Regions from separate parts of the Homo sapiens genome. Here regions 1, 2, 3, 4, 5 and 7 are each linked to region 6. Evidence: promoter capture Hi-C in 16 types of primary human blood cells and fetal thymus (Javierre and others, 2016). All regions are on one chromosome and are shown on one strand. The core of a region is centred on a gene start or on the middle of the fragment in contact, and the rest is flanking DNA. Distances in the headings are between cores, read along the strand shown. Region 1 overlaps DOP1A (DOP1 leucine zipper like protein A). Region 2 has its middle 12 kb from the start of RWDD2A. Region 3 overlaps ME1 (malic enzyme 1). Region 4 overlaps DOP1A (DOP1 leucine zipper like protein A). Region 5 overlaps PGM3 (phosphoglucomutase 3). Region 6 holds the start of IBTK (inhibitor of Bruton tyrosine kinase). Region 7 overlaps DOP1A (DOP1 leucine zipper like protein A).

Evidence for each region. The method cuts DNA at HindIII sites, captures the fragments that hold promoters and counts their contacts. A CHiCAGO score of 5 or more calls a contact.
Region 1: a fragment that was not itself captured here is called in contact with the fragment with the promoter of IBTK in region 6 in 9 of 17 cell types (M2 macrophages, naive CD8 T cells, activated CD4 T cells and 6 more); the score reaches 16.9 in M2 macrophages.
Region 2: a fragment that was not itself captured here is called in contact with the fragment with the promoter of IBTK in region 6 in 14 of 17 cell types (total CD4 T cells, naive CD8 T cells, M2 macrophages and 11 more); the score reaches 18.6 in total CD4 T cells.
Region 3: a fragment that was not itself captured here is called in contact with the fragment with the promoter of IBTK in region 6 in 3 of 17 cell types (naive CD8 T cells, naive CD4 T cells and M0 macrophages); the score reaches 8.5 in naive CD8 T cells.
Region 4: a contact is called between a fragment that was not itself captured here and the fragment with the promoter of IBTK in region 6, in 11 of 17 cell types (M1 macrophages, M2 macrophages, M0 macrophages and 8 more). The highest score is 11.6, in M1 macrophages.
Region 5: a contact is called between a fragment that was not itself captured here and the fragment with the promoter of IBTK in region 6, in 13 of 17 cell types (total CD4 T cells, monocytes, M1 macrophages and 10 more). The highest score is 17.1, in total CD4 T cells.
Region 7: a contact is called between a fragment that was not itself captured here and the fragment with the promoter of IBTK in region 6, in 13 of 17 cell types (M2 macrophages, total CD4 T cells, activated CD4 T cells and 10 more). The highest score is 19.3, in M2 macrophages.

The regions. Positions count from the first base shown.
Region 1 is chr6:83,117,349-83,120,048 of GRCh38, reverse strand. It overlaps DOP1A (DOP1 leucine zipper like protein A), which reads right to left. Exons shown (of 39, transcript NM_015018.4): 8 at 1,062-1,161; 9 at 192-301. Among named protein-coding and RNA genes, the nearest start is that of DOP1A, 51 kb to the right of the region's middle. The HindIII fragment of the contact is 4,542 bases long and covers 1-2,700 here.
Region 2 is chr6:83,203,841-83,206,540 of GRCh38, reverse strand. No RefSeq gene overlaps it. Among named protein-coding and RNA genes, the nearest start is that of RWDD2A, 12 kb to the right of the region's middle. The HindIII fragment of the contact is 9,001 bases long and covers 1-2,700 here.
Region 3 is chr6:83,224,998-83,227,697 of GRCh38, reverse strand. ME1 (malic enzyme 1) reads left to right here. Exons shown (of 14, transcript NM_002395.6): 11 at 221-363. Among named protein-coding and RNA genes, the nearest start is that of RWDD2A, 33 kb to the right of the region's middle. The HindIII fragment of the contact is 4,407 bases long and covers 1-2,700 here.
Region 4 is chr6:83,151,803-83,154,502 of GRCh38, reverse strand. DOP1A (DOP1 leucine zipper like protein A) reads right to left here. Exons shown (of 39, transcript NM_015018.4): 29 at 2,476-2,620; 30 at 2,136-2,215; 31 at 883-992; 32 at 460-609; 33 at 262-323. It also overlaps a transcript of PGM3 not described here. Among named protein-coding and RNA genes, the nearest start is that of PGM3, 40 kb to the left of the region's middle. The HindIII fragment of the contact is 1,606 bases long and covers 520-2,125 here.
Region 5 is chr6:83,176,542-83,179,241 of GRCh38, reverse strand. It overlaps PGM3 (phosphoglucomutase 3), which reads left to right. Exons shown (of 13, transcript NM_015599.3): 8 at 486-569. Among named protein-coding and RNA genes, the nearest start is that of PGM3, 15 kb to the left of the region's middle. The HindIII fragment of the contact is 3,063 bases long and covers 1-2,700 here.
Region 6 is chr6:82,246,294-82,248,993 of GRCh38, reverse strand. It overlaps IBTK (inhibitor of Bruton tyrosine kinase), which reads left to right and starts at 1,250. Exons shown (of 29, transcript NM_015525.4): 1 at 1,250-1,432. RefSeq lists a silencer at 1,448-1,617. The HindIII fragment of the contact is 2,262 bases long and covers 94-2,355 here.
Region 7 is chr6:83,133,586-83,136,285 of GRCh38, reverse strand. DOP1A (DOP1 leucine zipper like protein A) reads right to left here. Exons shown (of 39, transcript NM_015018.4): 19 at 1,999-2,099; 20 at 408-667. Among named protein-coding and RNA genes, the nearest start is that of PGM3, 58 kb to the left of the region's middle. The HindIII fragment of the contact is 8,956 bases long and covers 1-2,700 here.

The DNA of each region.
Region 1 (2,700 bases), core at 38-2,537, 870 kb before region 6:
CTTACATGGTAGTCTAACATATGATTATCATTTTACAGGAATTTTCTTGTTATAAAAATTCTTGGGAAGTTTGTAAGTCTTGTCTCCACCCCTTCAACTGTGAATTCAATTAAGGCAAGACCTCGTCTTACACTTTTTCACTACCTCTAGTGGTCAGTAAGTAACCAAAGAATAATAAAAGTATTCATTACCTGGACTAATAATTCTTTTGAAAAGGTAGTGAAATAGTAAGTGGCATGTTCTTCAGGATTACTGTGTCTTGTGCTTCTGGGTCCTATGATAGCACCGTTGTTATCAAAACCTCCATGGAAACAAATCACAAAATTACTTAAAATGGAATTCTCAAAACTGTTGTTCACTAAATACCAAAACAGCAAAATCTCAGAACAGCACTAAACACTTACCAATTAGTAGCCCATTCAATGTCAGCAAGAGAGATCATTTTAGATAGTTTAATAAAGGGAAACCAATTCAATACATAAGTATCATAGTATTCTTCCAGAATTATCCTTTTTATTTTTTGGCCAATTTTACTAACAGTGAAATAACTGAATACTCAGAACATCCACAATAAGTTATATTATGTCCCCTCACTCTAGGCAGTAAAGAGTTGTGAAGACAGACAAAACACACAAAAAGCATGGACGACCAAAGTGTACATATGTATTACTGCCTGAGTGGGACACTGTATGATGTGTAAGACAATGGTACTAGTCCTGATTCCTTTGATGAATTCAAAGTTTTGGACAGTATTTTGATTATTAGCTCATCCTTCTTTGCCTACTAACTTATATACAACCATCTCAATTTGTAAGGGGAAAAACATCTTGTTAAGGACAAGGGAACATGACTTTATGAATTCAAATAGACTCTTCAAATATAAAGCTGCTGAAATTTCTTCATACAATACACAACTAATACTGTTTATATTTTTATTGTCCATTTACACAAGAGATTTTAGTTTTTAAATTCAGGACATACATACAACTTGGTAATACTTATACATGACAAATCTCCCTCCATTTTTTCCCCAATCATGACCACAGACATCAAATACCTACCAAGAAGCCATGCATAAAGTCTTCGATTCAGAGACATATCCCTCCTTAGCACTACATGAAGGGCTGCTGACAAGATCCTGATCATATCCGGTCGAGTGGCCTGAAAGAGTTAGGAATATGGTTGTACTTAGCAATATACAATATATATTATTTTTTTCCTCTTTAAAAAATGCCCTGAAATATGCTTAGAATATTAGGGTGTATGGAGTACTTTCATGGATTATTTCAAACACAGGATATTACTTCCATTTTACAGATTAGGAAACAGGAAGAAAGTTAGGTAACATGGCTATTTAGCTGCATAACTGAAACTATAACTTAATTATTTTAACTTACAGTTTAAAGTTCTTTGTCTATATAATAAAAGCAAATTCTGACATAAAACAAATAAAATGAAGCAAGATGGGACAGACACAAGAAAATGATATGCCATTAGTCTTTCACATTTATAACGTTGTCAACTGACTATAAACTCCTGAGAAGGTTACTATCTTCATCCACTCTTTATTCTTTTTAAAAATTTTTATCTTGTAGTATTTTAAACATATCAAAAAATACAGAAAACAAAATAATAAACCGTTTTCTACCAATCATCCAGCTTTAACAATCTTAATTTTTCTCTCATTTTGTTCCATTTCTTTTTAAGAGAAATAATTTTTTTCTTTTTTCCCAATATCCTTAATTCAACGTTTAAAAAAATGATTAAAGGAGATCTGGGTTTTAGCTAAAAGAGGTAAATTTATAAAAATCAAAATAGAAGAAAAGCAACTAACTTGCTATTAATTTTAAGAATACTGCCAGATAATCACTTTACAATATAATCTTGGAATCTGAGAATTAGATGATAATGTGGAAACTGACTAGTTTAACAACCACTCTATAAGTAAAGAATCTAAACCTCACAGGTTCTTGAGGTTTTGGCTAAGTGCTTAGCCAAATTCAAATGCCTGGTTAGTGCCCCAGCTAGATGGAGAACTCACTTCTCCTTAATCACAGACCAGTGAACTTTGTCCTATATCATGCTTCTTGATAGAATTAGAAAGGATTTACCCAGCTCATTTGTGTTAAAGGAACCTTAGAGAAATAACTGAGATGATACAGAACACAGATCACCAACAATTGACGAATTAGGTTCACTCCTTTGAACACAAATGCCTTCTATTGATCTGTACAATTCTGAAAGTATGGTTCAAGACCCCTAGGTATCTCTAAGACTTTTTCAGGGGGTGCACAAAGTAAAAACCAGCTATTCATATTCATAACAAATAAAACTATGCATATTCATAACAATACAAAGATGTTATTGGGCTTTTTGTTTTGTTGACATATGCCCTGATCATGCAATAGTGGATAAAACTGCTGGCACCTTAGCATGAAAAGAGGCAGCATAGCAGCTGCACCTACTATACTTGTAATCATTATATTTTCACAGCCATGTACTTGCAGTAAAATCAAAAAATAAGTATCAACCTTTGAGTGCATGTCTTTTAATATTCTGTATAATAGAGTGAAAGATTCACTTAAAGTATTTCTGATGTGGCCGGGCACCGTGACTCACACCTGTAATCCCAGCACTTTGGGAGGCCAAGGCAGGCGGATCACAAGGTCAGGAGATCTAGACCATCCTGGCTAACATGGT
Region 2 (2,700 bases), core at 15-2,514, 960 kb before region 6:
CAAATGGAAGCATAAAGAGAGAGCAAGAAAGGAAAAGAGAGAGAGAGATGTTGGCTAAAATGAGGTGGTCTAATATACGTGCTACTGGGTCCTGTAAGGAAAGAAGAGATACTGGAGTACAAATATTTGAAGAGATAATGGAAAGAAATTTTCTCAAATTAATGAAAAGCATCAACTGATAGAGCTAGCAAGCCCCAAGTAGGATCAATACAAAGGACACCATACCTAGGGATATCATAATCAAATTGCATATCAAAAATAAACAGAAAAATCTTAAAAGCAGCCAAATGAAATAGGTATACAATGCCTTCAGAAGTACAATAAGAATGACAGCCAACATCTCGGCAGAAAAATGAGATAATAGACATTTTTAATGTGCCAAAAGAATAAAATTTAGCATTCTTTTTTTTTTTTTTCCAGACGGAGTCTCGCTTTGTCGCCCAGGCTGGAGTGCAGTGGCGCGATCTCAGCTCACTGCAACCTCCACCTCCTGGGTTCAAGCAATTCTCCTGCCTCAGCCTCCCAAGTAGTGGGACTACAGGCACCCACCACCATGCCTGGCTAATTTGGTTTTTTTTTTTGTATTTTTAGTAGAGACAGGTTTTCACCGTGTTAGCCAGGATGGTCTCAATCTCCTGACCTAGTGATCCACCCACCTCGGCCTCCCAAAATGCTGGGATTACAGGCGTGAGCCACCGCGCCCAGTCTAAAACTTAGCATTCTATACCTAGAGAAAATATCCTTCAGAAATTAAGGCAAATAGAGACATTTCAGACTAATGAAATCTGAGCTAATTCATGGCCTGCAGACCTACACTGCTAGAAGTACTAAAGGAAGTTCTTCAGTCTGAGGGAAAATGATCCTAGATGGAAACGTGCATCTGTGGGAAAAAATGAAAAGCACCAGAAAGAGTTGGGCCCGGTGACTCATGCCTGAATCCTAGCACTTTGGGAGGCCAAGGTGGGCTGATCATGAGGTCAGGAGATTGAGACCATCCTGGCTAACACGGTGAAACCCCCGTCTCTACTAAAAATACCAAAAAAGAAAAAAAAAAATTAGCCGGGCATGGTGGCAGGTACCTATCCTCCGAGCTACTTGGGAGGCTGAGGCAGAAGAATTGCTTGAACCTGGGAGGCGGAGGTTGCAGTGAGCCGAGATTGCACCACTGCACTCCAGCCCGGGCAACAGAGCAAAACTCTGTCTCAAAAAAAAAAAAAAGAAAGAAAGAAAGAAAAGAAAAGCACCAGAAAAGGTGGATGTGTGAGAATATAAAATACTGTTTTAAAATTCATATAAGACTATTGACTAATACAAATAACAATGTATGTGGGGTTTATAAAATATGTAGAAGTAAAATGTATGGCTAGAGTAGGACAAGGGGTGGAAGGGGGATTAATAATGGAAGTATACTACTGTATGTTTTATACATTATTCATGAAATGGTACATCCATTATAAAAGGAATACTGTAGCAAGTAATATACCACTTCATGACCAATCTAGGAACCTAACAATTTAAAATGTATTGCAAGAATTCAAGGAATATAGTAATAAATTAAGGAAGAATATTATAACCTCTAAAACACTAAAAATAATACAAAAAACATACAGTTTAAAAGCTAATAGGCCAGACGCTGTGGCTCACACTTGTGATCCCAACACATTGGGAGGCCGAGGTGGGTGGATCACCTGAGGTCAGGAGTTTGAGGCCAGCCCAACATGGTGAAACCCCATCTCTACTAAAAATACAAAATTATCCAGGTGTGGTGGCAGGTGCCTGTAATCCCAACTACTTGGGAGGCTGAGACAGGCGAATTGTTTGAACCCAGGAGGTGGTGGTTGCAGCGAGCCGAAATTGTACTATTGCACTGCAGCCTGGGCAACAAGAGTGAAACTCTGTCTCAAAAAAAAAAAAAAAAAAAAAAAAAAAGCTAATGGAAGAAATAGAATAACTCTGAAATACTTGATTAATGCAAAAGAAAGATAAAGGAGGAACAAAGAACGTAAGAGCTTAACTCCTGGGATAAATATAAAACTAATAGCAAGATGGTAGACATAAACCCAACTTTGCTGGTAATTATGTTAAATGTAAGTGAACTAAACACTCTAATAGCAAAAATTGTCAGATTGGATTTTTTTAAAGCTCCAATTATATGCTGTTTATATATATTTTTATTGTTATTATAGAGATGAAATTTCACTATATTGCCCAAGCTGGTCTCAAGTTCCTGAGGGCAAGTGATCCTCCTGCCTCAGCCTCCCAAACTGCTGGGATTATAGGCATGAGGCACCATTCCCAGCCTACAATTATATGCTGTTTATAAGAGACATACTTTAAATATAATGACACAAAAAGTTTGACAGTAAAAGGATGGCAAAAGATATCTCATACAAAGAGTAAGCCCAAGAAAGCTGCTGTAGCTCTATTAATATAAGAGAAGCACACTTCAAGGCAAGGCATATTAGTAGAGATAGTGATAAATGGGTCAGTCATTAAAAGACACAATTCTTTCTATGTTTTTAATAAAACAGCTTCAAAATATATGGAAAACAATGGCAGAAATAAATGGTAAAATATACACATTCACCATAATAGCTGGATATTTTAACTCACCTCTCTTCATAATTGAAAAATAATGACCCATAAATAATTAAGTCAATTTGTGGCCAGGCACAGTGTCTCACACCTGTAATCCCAGCA
Region 3 (2,700 bases), core at 166-2,665, 980 kb before region 6:
AGATATTTGTAGATTTGTGACCCTAAGGATTGTAAGGATTGTTGGCATTAACAAACTTGCCTCTTTTTGTCACTATACTTGAATACAAATAGTTTATATAGCATTTTGTTTAGGGTCTATTAGAAAATGAGCTGATAGATATCATTGATTTGAGGCATGGTCTTCTTGTGTGAATTAACCAATGATAGTGTTAATTACCAGCTTCATATTTCTTCATTAGGAGTTGCTGCAATTGGTGGTGCATTCTCAGAACAAATTCTCAAAGATATGGCTGCCTTCAATGAACGGCCTATTATTTTTGCTTTGAGTAATCCAACTAGCAAAGCAGAATGTTCTGCAGAGCAGTGCTACAAAATAACCAAGGTAAAGTAAAACTATAACAGATATTTTAATAATCAAATTTTTATTCATTATAGGGAGGCCTAGGATATCTAAGGTGCTTACTGTTTAAGTTTAAAAATTATACAACCAAAATGGAAAGAAAAGCACACAAATCAGAGGGATAAGAACTATTTCCTTTTCTAGAATGTTGTATAAATCCTCTTCTTCAACAAAATAAAATACATATTTTAATGTTTTACTGATAATTTTCCACAAGTGATTTGGAAATAGATATCTAAGATTTAAACATAAAAGTTAAATAGAAAGGAAGCAGCTTGGTTCTAGAGGCTTATTAAAATAGCTTTTAACTAGCTATTCCCAAACACTGAAGCATACAATGTAAAACCACAACCTTATTTTTGCTTTGCTAAATCCTGGGTTTGGGTTTTGGTACTATGGGTGGAACATTTGGGCAACTATCTTGACATCCAGCCAGACTGGGATAGGAGTCCTCAATGCTTCAACATTTTACTATGATTTATTTTATACCATGTTTGTACTAATATGTATTTGGCTGATATGCTGAAAGGAGCCTTTTTTCCCTTCAAAGACTTTAAAATATCATTACAACAAAATAGAGGTTGAGTCATATCTATCTAAAATGTTTATTTTGGAAAGAAATCCAAAATGAACTAGAGAGGTAAACATGAACGCTATGTCACTCTGCATTAACTGGAACTTAATGGCTCTATTTTAATCATATATCCTTAAATGCTCAATACTAGAATTAGTGATTTTTCTTTTTGGCAAGGAGCCACTCCATTGTTTATCTCTCTTATTTGGGATGGCATCAGTGTTCTCACTGATTTTAATTTTTATCTCATCTCTAGATTGGGGAATTTGCCTCACATTATTCAGTAGTCCTTAAATCCTTAAAGGAAAAAAAAGTCCTTTCAGCAACAACCAAGTCTTAGCATCATGCCTTGCACCTACTAGGCATATAATAAACAAGTGTTTAATTAATTATTTTGTCTTAATATATCTCAACAGGCCTCAAGGGTTAAGAGACTTATCTATAACACACATAAACAAAATTAGCCAAATTTATGTAGTTGTATTTTAAACTTTGAATGTGTCTGATATAAATGTATGCCTCAACTCTTTCTTATCATCTTGCCTAATGTTCTATGTTTTTCTACATAAAACATTGAAAGTTATTTTGAGGATGAAAATTTAGACACTGGTTTGGCTAAAGGATTGGAGAAAAAGGAAAGGTCTGCCTGTTGCTGGATGTGAGTTTCTGCTACTGTAGGCACAGGTGAAGATAGGAAAGGTTAAGTTACAATATACAGAAAGACTATTGAACCATAAAAATATAATCTAAAAATGGTATGGGAAGGTTCCCTTCACCATGTTAATAACATATATATATGAGAATATTTAGCTAGCTACAGTACTGTCATTTATTTAATGACATTTCTCCTTAAAATATGGTGATTATAGAAAGGCAGGAAGAGTGGGAGTGCAGGAGTGGGGGAGATATATATATATATATATATATATATATAATGTTACAGGCCTCTTTCTCAAATATAATTTTCCAAAACCTTTATATATGAAGTAATAATTTAGTTACATTAGAAAGTTGTTTATAACAAAATGTTTTATCTGCTAAAGAGCTTAAGGTATCAGACTTGTCTGAAAACAAAACCGAATTCTGTGCAAAACATAACAGTGTCTTATAAACAGCTAGATGAGAATTTGTTTTTCTGCCTCATCTATTTTCATCTTTTTGTCTCTCAAAGAAGGTTGAATTTCTGTTATACAACTTTAAGAACAACTAAAAGGTATATTATGACATTTGCTAAAAATAGGTTAATATTAATATCATTATTTAGACTCTAGATCCAAGAGATATGAAAGTTAAAACCCATTCTGTCATCGTTTAAACTATGCCTTGGGGATTTGATGCTTTAGACTTTTCAAATAGATTTCTTAGACTGTGATGCTTTATTTGTTTAGGGTTTCTGATTCCTACTTTGAAGCCTAAATACTCTCAACTAGATGTCCACTCTCACCATCACAGACAAATGTTCTTTTGATTAGCAATATGAAATGCAGCACCTAACAGGCCCTAGTTAATGCCTTTTTTTTTTTTTTTTTTTTTTTTTGAGATGGAGTCTCGCTCTGTCACCCAGGCTGGAGTGCAATGAATGGCACGATCTCGGCTCACTGCAACCTCCGCCTCCCAGTTTCAAGCAGTTCTCCTGCCTCAGCTTCCTGAGTAGCTGGGATTACAGGTGCCCACCACCACACCCAGCTAATTTTTGTATTTTTAGTAGAGATGGGCTTTCACCATGTTGGCCAGGCTGGTCTCCA
Region 4 (2,700 bases), core at 73-2,572, 910 kb before region 6:
GACCCTTCCCTCCACTAGTTGCTGCAAAAGGACAAATAGTTTTACTTATTACTTATCACTTAAGTTGTCCTCTGTAAATTTTAAGATTATATTCCCATAGCGTACAGAAAGTAGTGTGCTTTCCCTAGAGCACATATCCCCACTGACACTTGACAAAGAGCTAATTCAGTAGTCTCCTAGTCTCCAGAAAAGAGTACAAGTAAATAGTAAGAAGGAACCATGTACAGGAAAGAACTTGGATTGTCATCCCGTAATACTCACTCATCAAATCTCTAAATGTTGTTTTATCATGTGTCATCAGATTGTCCATAATTGCTCTCCAACTGAAAGAGATAAGGATTACAACATGTAATTATGTTGTTACTGTTAAAGAACAGTATTCTAACTTTCCAGGGGAGTAGCTGATTTCATCAGACTGTGAGGTGCATCATGCTGAATACAAATAAGAGGGCAACTTACTGATTAACACAAGAGGCATCCATCTGAAAGAAACTGGGATCCATAAAGAGGTCAAAAGCTTCTTTTTTCCAAGCTCTCCGTGTGTACTGATACCCACTAAGACTGCTGAGCAGCTGGACACAAGCTCGATAACTAGGGGCATTATGTGCACTACAAGGAAGAAAAACCACCTTAACCTACGTGTCCTAACTTTAATCATCCTATCAAGTTATACATAAATGTTCACATTTACCTAAGACAGTGACATGAAGATATGAAATAGAAAGCACCATAAGAAAAATAATATATGAATTTTTTTAAACAATTATAATTCAAGGTAAAAATGCCATTTTATGATAATTCTAGAAATGGCAATAAGGGAACAGAACTTGTTTCTAACAGGCTATGAATTAATTTTAAAAACTATTTAAATAATGATAGTACCTGTGATTTCTGAGGTAGGGCACAACATAATGCATAATATTTACAAGTAAAGGAATAACCCGCTCCTTTTCATCACTATAGAAAACCATATCCAAAAGATGAGCCAAAACCTATGAAAACATAAAAAATGAAGAGTAACATATGAGGTGAAACTGACATCATCCCAAGGTACTGATTTTCAGTTTGTTAGAAAACCTAGACTACTTAAAATTAGAAAAATCTAAAATTAAATCTTCCTGAATCATTTTTATGTTAATGAGTTTTGCCACCATCTGCTTTTTTGTACATTGTTACTATAGGATATAAATATGGGCAAATCTTGCCATTTCCAACTGAGATAGGGAAGTACAAAAAAGAAAAGAGTTCAAGAACCTTCTGTGACAGTGAGTAAACAGTGAATTTAGTACTAGAAACTATAGTATTCTTTTTCCCTGACTCAGCTAAAATGTAGTTTAGGAAAAAAAAACAAACAATTGAACTGGGCTGTTCAAATTCCAACACTGTCAATTAACAGCTATTTGGCCTTAGTCCTATTGTTCTGATCTTTGTAAAGGTCACTATCCACATCTGCAAAGAGGAAACAAAATGACATGTGTATAATAGGGTATAAAAAAGAACCTGTCAGACAATGTACATGAAAATGTTTGGTAAATTGTAAAATACATTATAGTGGCAGGCTTTAGATCACCTCCACCCCTCCCCAGGCCGGGCGCGGTGGCTCATGCCTGTAACCTCAGCACTTTGGGAAGCCGAGGTGGGCGGATTACCTGAGGTCAGGAGTTCGAGACCAGCCTGGCCAAACTGATGAAACCCCGTCTCTACTAAAAATACAAAAATTAGCTGGGCATTGTGGCACACACCCGTAGTCTCAACTACTTAGGAGGCTGAGGGAGGAGAATAGCTTGAGCCCGGGAGGCAGAGGTTGCAGTGAGCTGAGATCACCCCACTTGACTCCAGCCTGGGCAACAAGAGTGAAACTGTCTCAAAAAAAAAAAAAAAAGAAAAAGAAAAAAACACATAAAAAAGAATAGGACATGGAGAAGGGAAGCAGTATCTAAATTTATCACTAATGTTTGGCAAACTAAATAATCCAAATACATACAAGGCCAAAACTTTATATTAATTCTATATAGTGATTTCTAGAAGCACAAAATAGTTTCTCAAATTAGAAATTCCTCTATAAAAATTACTTGCTAATTTTTAATAATGAAACAGTCTACTTGAGAGTTCATGTGAAAAAGCTTAATATTTACCTCAGAGAGTAATGTCAATGCATGGACACTATATACAGAAGGAGTTATGTTTGCGGTTTCCATTGCAGGTGATAACATATCTATAAATAAGAGAAAATTAAAGATATGGCTAATTCCCACTGAAAATAAATTTTATGTGTGTGTGTGTGTGTGTGTATTATTTTTATATATGTATATATATATGTATATGTATATATATATTTTTCCCACTGAAAAAAAGTTACTTGTTAGACATGAGAAAAGGGATAAATTTGTGGTACTTATAGTGCTAGGCAAAATGATTTCTTAGTAAATATATGCCTGCTTACAGATAATAAACCTAAATGTTTGACAAGAATACCTTCAACATCAGATTCCAAATTGGTTCCATCTACCATTATTTTGGGAGAAGGCTTAACTTCAAGATTTCGTCGCAGCCATGTTGTCTGTTCCAGAGAAGAACCAGCAATTGCACCAATTGCATCCACTATTTTGTGAGTTACATCCTAAAAAAATAAGGAAGAACAACTATGTATGGTACACACATGCACACTAGTTATGAACTTCTGTAGTTTATATTTCTGAT
Region 5 (2,700 bases), core at 73-2,572, 930 kb before region 6:
CTCCCTGGGCTCAAGCAATTCTTCTGCCTCAGCCTCCCAAGTAGCTGGGATTACAGATGCATGCCACCACACCTGGCTAATTTTTGTACTTTTAGTAGAGATGGGGTTTCACCATGTTGGCCAGGCTGGTCTCGAACTTTTGACCTCAGGTGATCCACCCACCTTGGCCTCCCAGAGTGCTGGGATTACAGGCGTGAGCCACCGTGCCTGGCCAGATACTTTTATTTAAAAAATTAAAGAGGTGAAGATCAGGAGATACAGGCTTCTTAAAAGAGGAATTCTCATAGAATTGTTTTAAATAGTGTTCAAATGTATTTTAGGCTTTTTTCCTGGCATACATGTAAATTTTCAGTCAGACATTTTTGGCATAAACTAAGGCACAACTGAACTGGCTGATAATTTTGGTAGCCTTTAGAACTCTCATTATATTTGTTTTTGTAGACCATACTTTTGATGGCAAGTTAAGTATCATTGTTTTTGTCTAGATTGGAGAAAGTTTGAATATTGGTGTTGTACAAACTGCATATGCAAATGGAAGTTCAACACGGTATCTTGAAGAAGTTATGAAGGTATTGAACCATTTTTGTTTTCTGGTAGTTTCTTAATTAAGATCATGTTTCTGTGAGAAAGATACTGCCCTCATAAAAGTGATTATGTTGTAGTGCATGAAGCTGAGCTGCTGTTCATGTAAAGGTAAAGAGAAATAAATAAGAAAAAATTTAGTTGTCCTTGATGAATAAAGGAAAACTTCTTTCCTTCCTTTTCTTGGAGTTTTCCTTTAGAAAACTTGGAATTCTTTCTCTGTGCCTTTGTAATGAATGTAAGTCTTTCTAAAGGCCTAATAAGCCAGTTTTATAGCTCAGGAATACTTTTCTTTAAGGGCCTAGAGTCACCAATTTCAAATATAAACATCAAGGAAGATAGCTCACCTATCTCCCAGTCTCAGGAGAGTTTAACTTAGGTGTTTGCGTCCAATTTGTAACTATCTACCTGTCACAGAGGTATGAAAAGTTTTATTACTCCTTTAGAGAAGGGCAGTTAACACAGGTGGCCATCCCTATTACCAAGTAAGTTTAGGATAAACTATGTGTGTGACAAATGGTGGTTTCAAGTTTTCCTATTTGAGGACTAGTGTTAAAGAAAAAATAATTCATGACACTTGTTAAAATGGTAAGGCAGACTTGATTCAGGACTGTTGTGATAGGTACAGGGACTAATGTGATGGAGTTTTGCAGTGGTAGGAGAAAGATTGGGCTCAACTCCAAATATAGTAAGGAAAAGTAGGGCTTTATAGCCAAGGAGCAGGGTGTGTGGGGGGTGGTCAGTGGATGAAAAATTACTGAGAGGAAACATGAGGGTAAGTGGGTGGTATTTTGGCTAAACTGATCTAACAGGACTTTTGCTGAAGGTAGGCCAGGGCGGTCACATATTACCTGGGGGATGGTAGAGAATGAGAACTCAGATCAGATGTCAAGAGTGGTCATGTATCAGGATGAGGGATTCTCGCTAAGCTCACTTAGCATGACTCTTATTAAAATCGGGCTATTGGAAGACATGCCTAAGGACAAGGCCTAGTCAGGCCCACCTAAACCTAACTAAAGTTTGGTCAAGGAGAGAATTTTTGTCATTAGCCATCTTTTATCTTAGCAAATTGTATTGGAATGTGTCCGCTTGGCTATATTAAAGGGTGAGCGTTTATCTTTGCTATCTCTTAGCAAATTAGCCTGTGATTGAACATCAGTTTGGCTTAATACTTATTCAGTAATAAAACTGTTTCTTACCCTTCTTTTTTTTTTGGAGAGGTTTTCTGGGGTGGTGGGAGATTCTGTTTCTAATTATTTCCCCGGTGTCCACCAGGTGACCACCCTTGGCACCACACTACTTGCTCGGAGAGTTACCAGGGTTCATGGACAAAACTGGAAGTCTGTTTGCCTATACTTTCTCATTATCGAGAAGTTTTCCAACTTTTTTGTACCTCATTTTGTACCTCGTTCTGGCATTTATACTAGTTTTAGTTACCTTTCCATTCTCTAGAAAGCAGGAATTACAAAGTCAGATTCCTGCAGGATTTGGACAGGTAAAGTGAATGAGGGCAGCAGGGGGCTAAAAACAGGTCAGTATGTGCCAGCTGATGTCAACTGTAGTCACACTCTTCAAGAGAAGCAGGAAATCTGAATTTTCATGTGATGTTCCTATTTGTTTAAAAAGAAACAGTGGCTGGGCAAAACGAAATATATCTTGAGGCTGCTAGTTTATGACCTGATTTTAATATATGGTTATAATAAGCTCATTCAAGGGATTCCATCTGGGGCCCATTTGCCTGCCTTTCACAGGGATTGGGTTATTTCACAGTACTTGGGTTATTGTTTTAGGATTTTCATTTTCTGTCTTAAAAATTTATTACAGATAAAATAACCTAGTTTAAGAAACTGTTACTTCTCAACTCACTGTCTTCCAGATGAAATATTTTTAGCCCTTGCCATTCCTGAGGTCTCCTACATCCAATCTAATGCTGATCTTTCTTTTGCAGTTTTTCTACTATCAATCTTTCCTTAACCATTCTTAAAGCTCTCTCAGATCCATCCATCCATGACTTTCCCTATTCACTATTGCTGATCCAGCCACTATTTCTTACTGGGATTAGTCCTAGAAGCCTCCTCATTCCATTTCTTAACCTTCTAATTGAACTTGCTGCTATTT
Region 6 (2,700 bases), core at 1-2,500:
GTCTCGATCTCCTGACCTCGTGATCCGCCCGCCTCGGCCTCCCACATTGCTGGGATTACAGGCGTGAGCCACCGCGCCCGGCCAACTTAAGCTTATTTTCAAAACCACTCAATTTTGACATTACAAACTGGTTTTTGTTTTGTAGAAGGACATTAAGAATAAAGAGCAAAGAAACAATTATGTGCTGGGAAGGGCAGTAGGAGGGCTGGGTCCTAGTCTCCCTTTCTCTTTCGCTAAGCAGCTGTGTGGCTTTGGGCTAGTAACCTACCCTCCCACAAAAAAGGCTTCAAAAGAGAGCAAGCAGAGCTCAGTGGGCATTAAGACATGCGCAACTCCTTTCTTTTAGAGATTAGATGAGGTCGACTCAGTGGCTTGTAAAACTCAACGTGGCAGAGCTGTACAGCCAACTCATGATTCTTAGTGTCGTTTGTTTTGAGTCACACTACACCTCCTTGAACAATCATTTACTGAGTGCTTACCGTATTAGGCATTCAGCAGCAGTGTGTTTCCCATTCAGTAACCTAGTATTGATTATTGGCTACTGTCCCTCCTAGCATTTTTCACTTGACCACTTTCTAAATGGCCTTTAGATTCAGAGTTCAAGTGGAAAAAGCCTAGTGTAAGCCTGGTGTCAGGCAGTGAGTGGCGTGACCCGGGTCGGCAGCTAGTCCTACGGTGGTGATCTAAGAGGGCAGTGACGCCTTCTGACCAAGGGAGTGACTGCCAGATAATCCGGGTGTATGGAGATCCAGAGAGGGGTGAGGCTGGGTTTACGGAGACTACACCTTTGGCTTTGCAGTAACCCCACTGCTAAGGCCATGGGAGGAAACTCTTCTGTGCAGGACGCCTATGCACTTGGCTTCTGCTGCGTAGCGACCGGGTGTCCAAGGCATCCTGCCAGGTCTCCTTCTCCACTCGGGTTTAGCCTCCCCCGCGAGTCTCCAGCTACCTAGAGAGACGTTTCTAACTACGAGATGGCTGGCCTGAAAGGGACACTCCCATCACCGTTGTTGGCCTAGAGTTCCCCGCTGCGGCCTTTTTCTTTTCCCCGCCCCTGGCCTGAGTCAGCGGCCCCAAGGCCGGCGAGGTCAAGTTCCTTTGGGGCGCCAGGGAAAAGGCCATGGCAGAGGTGCTGCCACGCGAAACCTTCTGGGCAGGCACCAGCCAATCATCAAGAGACATACAGGAGCCCCAGCCAACCAGCGCCCGCCTTATTACTGGGAACCGCCCGCTCGGGCCCTTCCTCTACATCCCCGTTCCCGATTCCTGTAGTAGCGGCTGTATTGCAGCCGCCTGCCGAACTGACCCGGGTCTGGGGACTGGCCCCTCTGGCGCCGTTCGGTTTCTCTTATTGCCTTCACTGAGGATGAGTCCCTTTGTGGCTCTATGTGGACCCTGCGGAATCCACCGGCGCAGTTTCATCTAGCGACTGGTGAGGGAGGGCTTGGCGCTGCCCGACCGTGCGGTGCGGCTTCCCTTCAGCCCGGGGGCAGGGGGAGAGTATTCGCCTTCTGGAGGGTGCGGGTGGCTGCGGACGGCGGCGCGGGGGGACCGTGGGGAGGGGACTCTGTGGCCCCGAGGCTGCCGGGCTTCGCGCGAGGCGGCGCGGAGAGGGCCGAGTGGCCAGGGTCCCTACCGCCCCCCTCAGCTAATGAATGGCCTGTCCCGGCGATGCGCTACGCTCCCGTCCTGCTGGACACGCCCTCCAGCGACATTGCATTCCTAGTTGTGATAGTTATGTAGTGTCACTTTCCTTCGAGTCTTGGATTTGAAGCCATTCCTGTGGGCGCTCATGTTCCTTATCCCCTTCCTGGAGTCACAAGTTTGAGTCCACCCTGGGGATACTGACTCTGGGGAAGCAGGTCGTGAAATCTGATAAGTGGACATTGATTGCTATGTAAAAAGGAACTGATTCTTTTTGGAGGGTGGAGGGTTGAGAGAGACAGAGAAGACAGGCCCTTTGTTTTTGTAACAGGCAGAGCTGTCTGGCTCAAAGAGTTTTAGTTCAGCTGCGAATTAGGTAACATAGGCCGTCCTTGACTCCTGTTTTCCAACGTAGTTCATAAAACTTGACTGTGTTAGCCAGAGATTCATGTAGCACCTTTTAACTTATGCCTCGAAGTAGGCCATTTGAAATTTATCAGAAATACTGAAAGGATATGACTTTTATGAGTAGTAGTGTTTCAGTGCCCATAAAGTGGTGTAAATTCACAGGCTTGCCAGCCCCCTCTTGATCATTTCTCTTTTTGTATTTTGAATTCCTTAACTTTTATTTGTTTTAGAAATTGAGGCAAGGTAGATGAGGACAAAACTGGTTTCTAAAAATAATTACATTTGCAAATATTTGCAGAAGCTTTAGTCAAACCAGAGTTTACTTCAAGAAATTTTTTAGGCCGGGCGCGGTGGCTCACGCCTGTAATCCCAGCTACTGGGGAGGCTGAGAATTGCTTGAACCCGGGAGGTGGAGGTTGCAGTGAGCCGAGATCGCGCCGCTGCACTCCATCCTGGGCGACTGAGTGTGGCACCATCTCAAAAAAAAAAAAAAAAAAAAAGATGCCTGTAATCCCAGCAGTCTGGGAGGCCAAGGTGGGCGGATCACTTGAGGTCAGGAGTTCGAGGCCAACTTGGTGAAACCCCGTCTCTACCAAAAATACAAAAAAATCAGCCAGGCATGGTGATGTGTGCCTGTAATCCCAGCTA
Region 7 (2,700 bases), core at 64-2,563, 890 kb before region 6:
GCATTATTCTTCTCTTAAAAGATGAGGAAAATGACTCATGAAATACAAAATGTGCATTACAGATTTACTATAAATTCCCAATGAAGTATCTACAGAGCCTGTAGGACCAGAATTGCTAACTAAGCTCTAAAGATATTTCCATCAAAATTGAAGAATGTCTCTAATCAGAGCTGTGCCTGATTCCTGCCCTGAAAGAGTCAACTGAGAGACCCACATCCTCTAAGATGGTCATTGACAAAGTACATTCTGACATGGTCCACACAGCATTGCTAGTGCATGAGGAGGGGAGAAAATAAGCCCATGGAGAAAATCTCACATGCAGTTCTTTCAACAATTACTGTTGTATTCATGTATCACTTTATTTTAATAATTCTAAATAAAGCTGTCTACTTCTATGTGTTATTCACCATTGCTGCAGGCAAAATTTTGCATGAAATGCTTGTCACTCTCCTCTCCTGGATAACAGGGAGACTTATTCCAATAACGTTCTGCTTGTACACGCTGTACTGAAACCCTCTGAGTTTTTGGATGAAGCAGGAGCAATAGCAATGGTTCCAAAACTCGTGCAATATCATGTCTTTGTAGGACTTGGTTCAGCCAGGCTTGTCCCACAGAGCTAGTAGAACCATCGAGACTGTTAAGGCTATCTAACATGATGAACAGTGACCTAAAATAAACACAAATAATTAAAATAAAGAACCAAACATCTACCTTGTCACACTCTTTTATAAAATTAATAAATTCTGTTTCTTATTTTGAATTAACTATTTTGAAGTAGTCATACTTCAGGATAAATTTTGATCATAGTATTTTAATAATCTTAATCCCAATAGTCTCGGTGGGTATAAGAAAGGAAAAAAACCTTTTGCCCTTTTAAAAATATACTCATGCTTTGAAATTTCACAGGCATACATTACTAAGATTAATACTGAAGAACTGAAAAAAAATATGATTAGTCTTGTTTTAGCAACATTTTCCTGTTCATATTATCAAGCACTGAGCCTTCGGCAAGTCGGCATTACTCCATGTTGGTCCATGTTCCTCTGCTCACACTCTCCTTGTGAGCCAAAGCTCTGTGCTTAATTCAAGGAAAGATCTGTGGAAGGTATGAAAGTGTGGTTTGGAATCAGAAAAACCCAAGATTCAAATATTTTGTGTGGTGTTGGGCAAGTAACAACTTTTCCTGACCTCTATTCCCTCACTTGTAAAATTAGGAAAGATGGTTGTCAAATAAGAGATGATTATTTATAAAGTAAAGGTTCAATATATTCAGTACATTGTAGGGGTTCAATATATGGTTCAGTATCAGATGACTTAAAATGCTAATGCTGGTTGAAAAGCACCAGCTGAAATAACGTTCAGTAGAGGACACATCTGATCCTGAGCTGACCTTGAACATAGATTCATGGCCACCAGTATGAGACCAACTGGTGAGACTACCTTATGACAATATATGAATCCACCTAAAAATGGCAGCTCCTTGGAATTTAATGCAGATCTGATATTTGAAGTCACCTACGTAGTCCAGACAAAAACCAAAACCACTCTCAGGCAGCTACAAGTTCTCTGGATTCATGGAAAGAATCTGTTAGTGTTTTCAGCTATAGATTTTAATAAATCTAGTTTAGGCAGAAGATTGAAAATAATTGCTTGAGAAACACATAATCTACTATCTATATGCAGTTTCACTAAATGTGAATATAGTCTCAAGAGAGCTGTATCCATTGCTCTATCACTAACATTATCAGGAACGTGATGAATAGTTGTCCAAGGAAGGGAAGTGGAGCCGGGTACTCCAAAACCAGAAAGTAAAAACCTGGTGGATGAGTAAAAATGCCATGCATTTTAATACAGCTTACGGTTTTCAAAATAATAAATTCTCTTTATAAAATTTGTAAATTGCTATCTCCTACACTTGCCAAGCTAGACAGTGGACTCAAGGAAAGAGGCAACATTAAGATATATGACTGTGAAATCTTAATATAAAATGTAACTGACCTGTCAAAAGAACGTACAAAAGATGAAGATTTATTTATATGGAGATCTCTCGTTAGATGCCAAAGAACTGCAAACTTGGCATGTGCTTCCATCCTTATTTTCTGAGGAGAAACATGGGAGCTTAAATTATGTTCTTCTCTCTTGAAGATACTATGATTTTAGTAAAATCAGAGTACTATTTAGGAGTACTGTATTACGTTCAACGTCCACAATATTCAAACACACATTGCAATAAACTTTATTTATATTCTTTATGGCAGTAGAAACACAGAAAATATGTAAATATATACAGAAATATTGAACTTAAAAGGATCATCTCATCCTGTCTCATAAATAATTATTCCTGAGTTCAGACTTTAAGTAATTAGTTTACTATATTATTGTATAACAGGAGAAAAAAGTTACTAATGTACATATATCTGGAGTCCAGAAAGCACTTCCTCCTTCATTTTAATATAAACATTTAGTTATCAAAATTGATTTCATTGCACTATATATTTTTTGTCCCAGAAATGATACATTAATCCCAAATGAGTTTTTCATCACTTATAAAGCTGGTTTGACTCAAAAATTTAAATACTTAAAAATAATTTTTACAATAAAAATATTAAACTACTTTTGAGATTATTTGGAAAAAGATTAATATAATAATGGGTAAAACAATGTAAAAATAAATTATTTAGATAGGCAAGCACATTTGGT